2 separate regions of the Homo sapiens genome follow, and region 1 is linked to region 2. Evidence: promoter capture Hi-C in 16 types of primary human blood cells and fetal thymus (Javierre and others, 2016). All regions are on one chromosome and are shown on one strand. Each heading gives the region's core, a stretch centred on a gene start or on the middle of the fragment in contact. The rest is flanking DNA. Distances are from core to core; before and after follow the strand shown. Region 1 overlaps ARHGEF10L (Rho guanine nucleotide exchange factor 10 like). Region 2 holds the start of PAX7 (paired box 7).

The links. The method cuts DNA at HindIII sites, captures the fragments that hold promoters and counts their contacts. A CHiCAGO score of 5 or more calls a contact.
Region 1: a fragment that was not itself captured here is called in contact with the fragment with the promoter of PAX7 in region 2 in 1 of 17 cell types (endothelial precursors); the score reaches 5.1 in endothelial precursors.

What each region holds. Positions count from the first base shown.
Region 1 is chr1:17,545,274-17,548,450 of GRCh38, forward strand. The region is part of intron 1 of ARHGEF10L (Rho guanine nucleotide exchange factor 10 like); the gene reads left to right. Among named protein-coding and RNA genes, the nearest start is that of ARHGEF10L, 7.2 kb to the left of the region's middle. RefSeq lists an enhancer at 1,780-2,424. The HindIII fragment of the contact is 1,929 bases long and covers 920-2,848 here.
Region 2 is chr1:18,628,977-18,632,157 of GRCh38, forward strand. It overlaps PAX7 (paired box 7), which reads left to right and starts at 1,870. Exons shown (of 9, transcript NM_001135254.2): 1 at 1,870-2,712. The coding sequence starts at 2,628. RefSeq lists promoters at 1,554-2,339, 1,743-2,653, 2,377-2,653. The HindIII fragment of the contact is 4,552 bases long and covers 358-3,181 here.

The DNA.
Region 1 (3,177 bases), core at 634-3,133, 1.1 Mb before region 2:
CACACCACTGGGAATCCAGCAATGAGCAACTCAGTCCCTCCCTTTGAACTTACATTTTGGTGTGATGGCGCTCCAGGACTGATCTTAGTGTCCTCATTGCTGAGGGGCAGCTGCTGGGCAGGGCCTGCTTTGGTGATAGAGGTTGTAAATTGCCCTCAAATCACAGGAGCTCTCCATTCCAGCAAGTGAGTTGTTACCATGCACCAGGAAGAGAGGAAATGGGACAAGGAGGAAATTCAGTTAATTGAGAGCTGACTTTGCCATTGAGTAACCCTATTCAGGATGACTCAGGCATCTGGGAGGAAAAGCAGCAGTGGTGTCTGAGGACAGACCGTGGACAAATTAAGTAGCTTGGGGCTTGTGGAGTTGTGATGTCCAGGACATGGGTGGCTAGAGCTGACATAGGCAACAGTGGGCATGACCTGTCCATATGGATTCAGGACCTGCATGAGAGAGTAGAGGCAGACGGTTGCTCTTGTACATCCTGTGATCTCTGGTTGGAAGATGGACATGTGCACATGTTACATACAGTGGAGGGATGTGCGGAGTGTAGCAGGGGAATGGGGTAGGGAGAGGGGAACAATTCATGCCTCTGAACCTTTGCACATGCTGCTCCTTCTACCCAGGGGAGTTAATGTGTGTTTTCTCCACCCAGAAGGAATGGCATGTGCAAAGGCTCAGAGGCATGAATTATTGAGAGTTCAGTCTGGCTCTGGTGTCAGGTGAATCAAAAGTCTGCAGGGCTTGAAACAGAGTAGGGGAAGCATTGAACCTTCCTCAAGTCAGGAGGCACAGCATCATCTGGGTGCCAGCAAAGGAAATCTGACAAACCTCACCTGTCAGGGGCCTTGTGCTGTGTGGATCACCCTGCTTCCCTAAAAATCTTTGAGGTTTCTTGGTAGTTTCCTGCTGTCCCTGAAGCTTGCTGGTCTTCCAGCCCCTGCATCTGTGGCTGGTGGATTCTCAAAAAAAATCCATGTTAATATCAAGCACAAAACTTAATTGGGAAGAGGGGTCTCCTGTTCTCCCCCCATTGCTAATTGATACCAGAAAAGCTGCTTCTGTCCTTCATTTAGGCAGATAATTGAGAACTTGTTTGCTTAAAGGCAACTGATTTTGACTTTATGCCTATAGGTGCCAGATATTTTTCATGCATCAATTCATTTAATTTCCATGCCGATCCTGCAAGTACGTCCTATTTTCCGATCTTATCGATGAGGAAATTGAGTCTCAGAGACTTATCCAAGGGCACTGTGTTTGTAAGTGGCAGGATTTGAACCCGGCAGGCCCTGAGATCTTTCTGCAGTCCCGTGCTCCCCTCCTTTATGCGGTTTTCCTTTTCCCTTTGAGGAGGGGAGGGAGAGATTCATCACATGCCTGGAATCTCAGCACACTTTGCCTTTCTTAGTTCGGAGTTAATGTATGTTTTTTTAATTCAGTGTTGGCAAGGCCCAGTCTGGTCATAGCTGGGTTTGTTACCTTGTGGCTCAGGGGCAAGGATGAGAATAGAATTCTGGTACCCACACGGGCTCCCTAGGCCTGGTGTCAGGAAAGAGCTAATACTAATGGCTCATAATTGCAGAGTGGCAGGCACCTTGGTAGTGCATGGCTCGTGGGAGCTTTCTCAGTTCTCAGCTACTCCAAGAGGTGGGGTGCATCATTATCTCTGTTTTGCCTCCATTGAACTTGCCCAGGGTTGAGCAACCAAGAGTTAGAAGCACCACATTCTGCTCGCCCCGGAGTCCTGCCTCTCCACTCTTGTGTCTTTCCTTGAGCAGCGCCAACCCTCCCAGGGCCTGGCCCGGCTGTGCCTTTGACAGCCCCTAGCAGCAGTGCCCATATGCTATGGAAAATGGGGAAGGATAATTGACCACTTGGCCACAGGCCCAGGGTCTGCCCACCTCTTGGTTAGAGCCAGCACTGAGCTCCCTGCCATGGGGTTCATCTTCCCACTGGCCTGTTGGTTGAGAGGATGGTCTCAGACCAGGCCCCAACACCACCTTCTTGCAGATACATCCCCAGTCCAGGGCAGTGCAGGTGGTTTGTGATGGTGCCAGCCCATGTTGGCATGTTGGGCCCAAGATGAGGTGGCATTTCTGAGTTTTGGAACCCCTCTTTCTCCTTGAGAGCCTGGCCCCAGAGTGCCCTCCTCTCTGTAAAAGTCCTGGTTCTAGTCGCTGGCTGATTGGTATGCATCCCAGAATCCCGGCCATTAGCATACAAGGCGGGAGCCAGCTCTCATTACTCCCCTCTCTTCATTGTTTGAAGTGGGCAGACTTGGAGTGAGCTTTGGAAATGTGGGCTTTTTATTCAATTTCCCTAGAAAAACAATGGTTAAATTAAGTAGGAAAATAACAGTCTCCCGAAATTGAAGAAAAATATTCCTGAACCTAGACATTACCCACAACCTTTGAATTTCTTTTAAAACAGGCATTTGTTTTACTTTAAGTTATACATGTATCGCATGACCACTGAAGAAAACACAGAGAAAATACAGAGAGAAGAAAATGGAAATCATTTTGCCACCTGAAGACAGCCTCTCTCAATATTGTGGTGCATATCATTCATGTATTCAGTGATTCATTTACTCATTTGGCAAGTATCTATTTAGGGCCCACAAAGGGAGAGGCTGTGTTGGGTTCTGGGAGTAGACGCTGGGAGTAGAGGGGTACCCTGCTCCCTGCTGGGGCTCTTTCTATGTTGGGCCTTGGGCAACTCACTTGACCCTTCTCTTATCTGTTTTCTCATCTGTGGAATAGGGATAACACTAGTAGCTGTGTCATAAGGCATGGAGATTTGACAAGAAAGGGCAGGTAGGATGCTCATGATATTGCGTGGCCCAGGTCAAAGCTTAGTAATGTTGGCTTTTGTCATGTAGGGGAGGAATATCTTTTCTTCTACCCTGTTAGGTTCTGTGATAGAGCCTATGAATTAAACTGACAAAAGACAGATTAATAGGAGAAAAGGCATATAGATTTTATTTAATGTTACTATATATATGTATTTTTTTACTGTAAGGGGTCTCCATAGAAAAGAAATGAAAATCCAAAGAGGCAGTTAGACCCAGGAGCTTACGTAACATTTTAACAAAGGGCGATAAATTGTGGAGAAGTGAGGAGACAAAAGAAAAGTATTGGACTCTTAGGGGTCAGTAAATTTCAGGAAAGTGACTAGGAA
Region 2 (3,181 bases), core at 620-3,119:
CCCCAAACAGACCTACACACAAAACCCACCTGCACCTTGACACACAGACCCGGGCACAGGCCTATATTCACACGCAAGCACACTGGCCCATTCCACAAATACAGGGAAGAAGTGCCTTGAAACCTTCCAGGCAGAGGACAGCTAGTGACGAATGAATGGATGAATATGCAATATACCTAATATATATGTGTGTGTGTTATACGTGTGTATGCATAAGTGTATATGATACAAATACATGTATATATACACACAGAGAATATATATCCACCTATGGAGGTCAAAGCAGGCCAGGTCCCCAGCAAGGCTGGTGATGTAAGGGGGTTGCTGTCTTCCCTGGGCACACATGCTATGGCTTAAAGCTTGATCTCCCAATCTCTCCCGGGGGAGGGCCCCATAACTTGGGCCAGGCAAAGTACCCCGGTGTCCCCCTTCCAATTCGAAAGCTACTTGGCATCTGTCTTCTCAGTTAGAGAGAGTATGAGCTCAACAAGTTTTTCATCAGGGCCCCCATTCCCAGAAGGCCCCCCCAAAATCTGATGAGCCCCTTGTGCTAGGAGAGTGGGGAGAGGAGGGAGATCTGTCACATGCTGCAAGGGGCAAAGGTCACAGGTGAGGCGAAGGGGAGGGATGGGGACACCCTGGGGCCAGCCAGCGGTGAGCGCCCCAGGCTAAGACAAGGCTGACCCCACTGCCGAGAGAGGGCGGGCAGGGGGTGAGATTGAGGGCTGGGTTCATTTTATTGTATTTTGCCTCCAGCGTGGGGCCAGAGACGCTCTTTCCCCCGGGAGACAAAAGGCCTGCAGTTGTGGCGTCCTGCCCCGCTGGGAGGGCGTTTCGCCCCCAGGACTCGGTGTCCCGAGGTTGAGGCTACTGGTCACCCTGGCTTCAGAAAGCGAAGAATTCAGGAACCTCTGATCACCCCACCCTGACTCCTGATCATTCAGTTGGGGCGTCCCCTCAAACCCACCAGCAAGGAGCTCAGAGTTGGTGAGTTCAGAGCTGTATCAAGTCTTGACGGGCTCCCTCCCTCCCATTTCCCACCTCTTTGGGCCCCCAGATCCTCACACCAGCACCAACTCCCTGTAAACCCAACTACCTGCTGGAAAGGAGTTATAGGCCCGGCCTGGGGGCCTGAGGAGGACGGCGGCGGCTGGAGACGTCTGCACGGGGCGGAACTGGAAGGGGAGGAAGAAACCTGTGCCTAGCACTTGGCAGACCCACTTTGCCAAGCCTCGGAACCAGATACGGTTACTGGGGGCTTCTCAGAGCGGCAGGAAGGTAGAGTAAGAACCGGACACCGGGGCTCTGACATTACACAGAAAAGGTCAGAATTCCTCCCTTCAAGTCACCCTAGGCCGGTTCCCGGGGAGCCTCACTGGAGGAATTTCAGAGGGTGTAAGACGAGGGAGAAGATGAGAAATAGGGCGGACTCTGGCCCTCGGAGGCCAGAGAAAAGGCGAGACTCCAGAGAGGCGCCGGACCCGAGGCAGACATTCCCATACAGCCGGGACTCCGAGAGCAGCCGTGGGCGACCTGGGGGCCGGGGACTCGGCGGATCCGGCCCATTCATCAAAGGAAGGCACTGGGACAAAGTTGGCCCCCTCCCCTTCTCCCCCAGCCCCCAACTCGCCGGGATCGGCTCCCTCTCTTTTCACGGCGGTTCAAATTCTCCCCCAAAACGAGGTCGAGCCGGGGATTAGAAAAGAGGGAAAAAAATATTCGTTGGCGATTTCTTTTCGTTATTGGTCCTCCGCTCCCTTGCGCCCTGGCCCCCTTCCCTCCTCATGAATAAAAGAAAAGTCCGAACCTATCAGATCGCGCTCACTGCCTCCTCCTCCTCCTCCTCCTCCTCCTCCTCGTACTTCGGTGAACACTTTTGCACAACTTACCCAGCTGATCACTCGCGCCCCCTCGCTTTTCCATTTCTCTTTCCCCAACCCCGTCACCCCCTGTCTCCTCCGTCCAGCCCTGAAACCCGAGGAGGCTCCTTCTTCCGTCTGTCCCCGGGTCTCCTAGGGGACGGGGCTGTGAAAGCTGGTGTGGAGGGAGAAGCGAGTGTGGTCCGGAGAAAGAAGGCGTGGAGAAGAGGGAGGGAGCGAGAGCGAGAGAATAAATATATAAATAAATACGAGAACGAAATCCACTCCGCAGTCTCCGGGCTCGGAAACTTTGGCCCCGAGCGCCAGAGCGCCAGAGCGCGAGAGCGCGGCGCTCGCCACTCTGAGGCTGGCGGCCTCGATTCCGGCCGCGTTCCCCCGGCCCCCCTCCGCCGCGGGGCCTGGTCTCCGGGTTCTGCCAGGCGCATCAGCCCGCACAACTTCTGGCCGAGGCCAGCCGGCAGAGGCGGACTTGGGGTTGGAGTGTTTGTTTGTTTGAACTTCCTCGTCGTCGCCACCTTCCCTCCCCCCAACCTCCACCCCACCTCACCCCCCTCCCCAGCTTCTGGACGCGTTTGACTGCAGCCAGGGGTGGGGGGTGGGGGTAGGGAGTGTGTGTGGAGGGGAGGGAGAAGAGGTTAAAAAAAAGAAGACGAAGAAGACGGAAAGAAAGAGATCGCAGCAGGGGTGAAGGGAGCGGACGGGAAGCGATTTTTGCCGACTTTGGATTCGTCCCCGGCGTGCGCAAGAATGGCGGCCCTTCCCGGCACGGTACCGAGAATGATGCGGCCGGCTCCGGGGCAGAACTACCCCCGCACGGGATTCCCTTTGGAAGGTAAGAACGCCCAGGCTGGCCTCGCCGCGACTCCGCCGCCCGGAACTCGGGGTCCTTGGAGAGGCTGCGGTCTCCAGGGGACGGTGGCGGCGCCGGCGATAGCAGAGGGATCCCGTTCTCTTCTGGGTCCCAGTCCGGGCGCGGAACCCAGGGAGTTTCTGGGACCCATACTTGTCCGCTTCTGCGTGGGTTTCACTGCCCGGCGGCCTTCGTTTCGCAGGTCGCTAGCTGCCGGTCTTTACCCGCAGGGCTGAAATTCTGGTAGATTTGGACTCCTAGTAAATATCAGGTCCTGGTGAATTTCAGCTCTTTCCACTATTTCCAGACACTTCTTCCCTGACAGTTTCTCGGCTCTCCTGGCTCGCTGGCTGCCAGCTTTCTACTCTTGTTTTGAATTATTTTTTCCACCCCCGGGATTGGTCTTCCAGTCCTTTATTTCGAACCACCTACCATGGGTGATACTTTATAT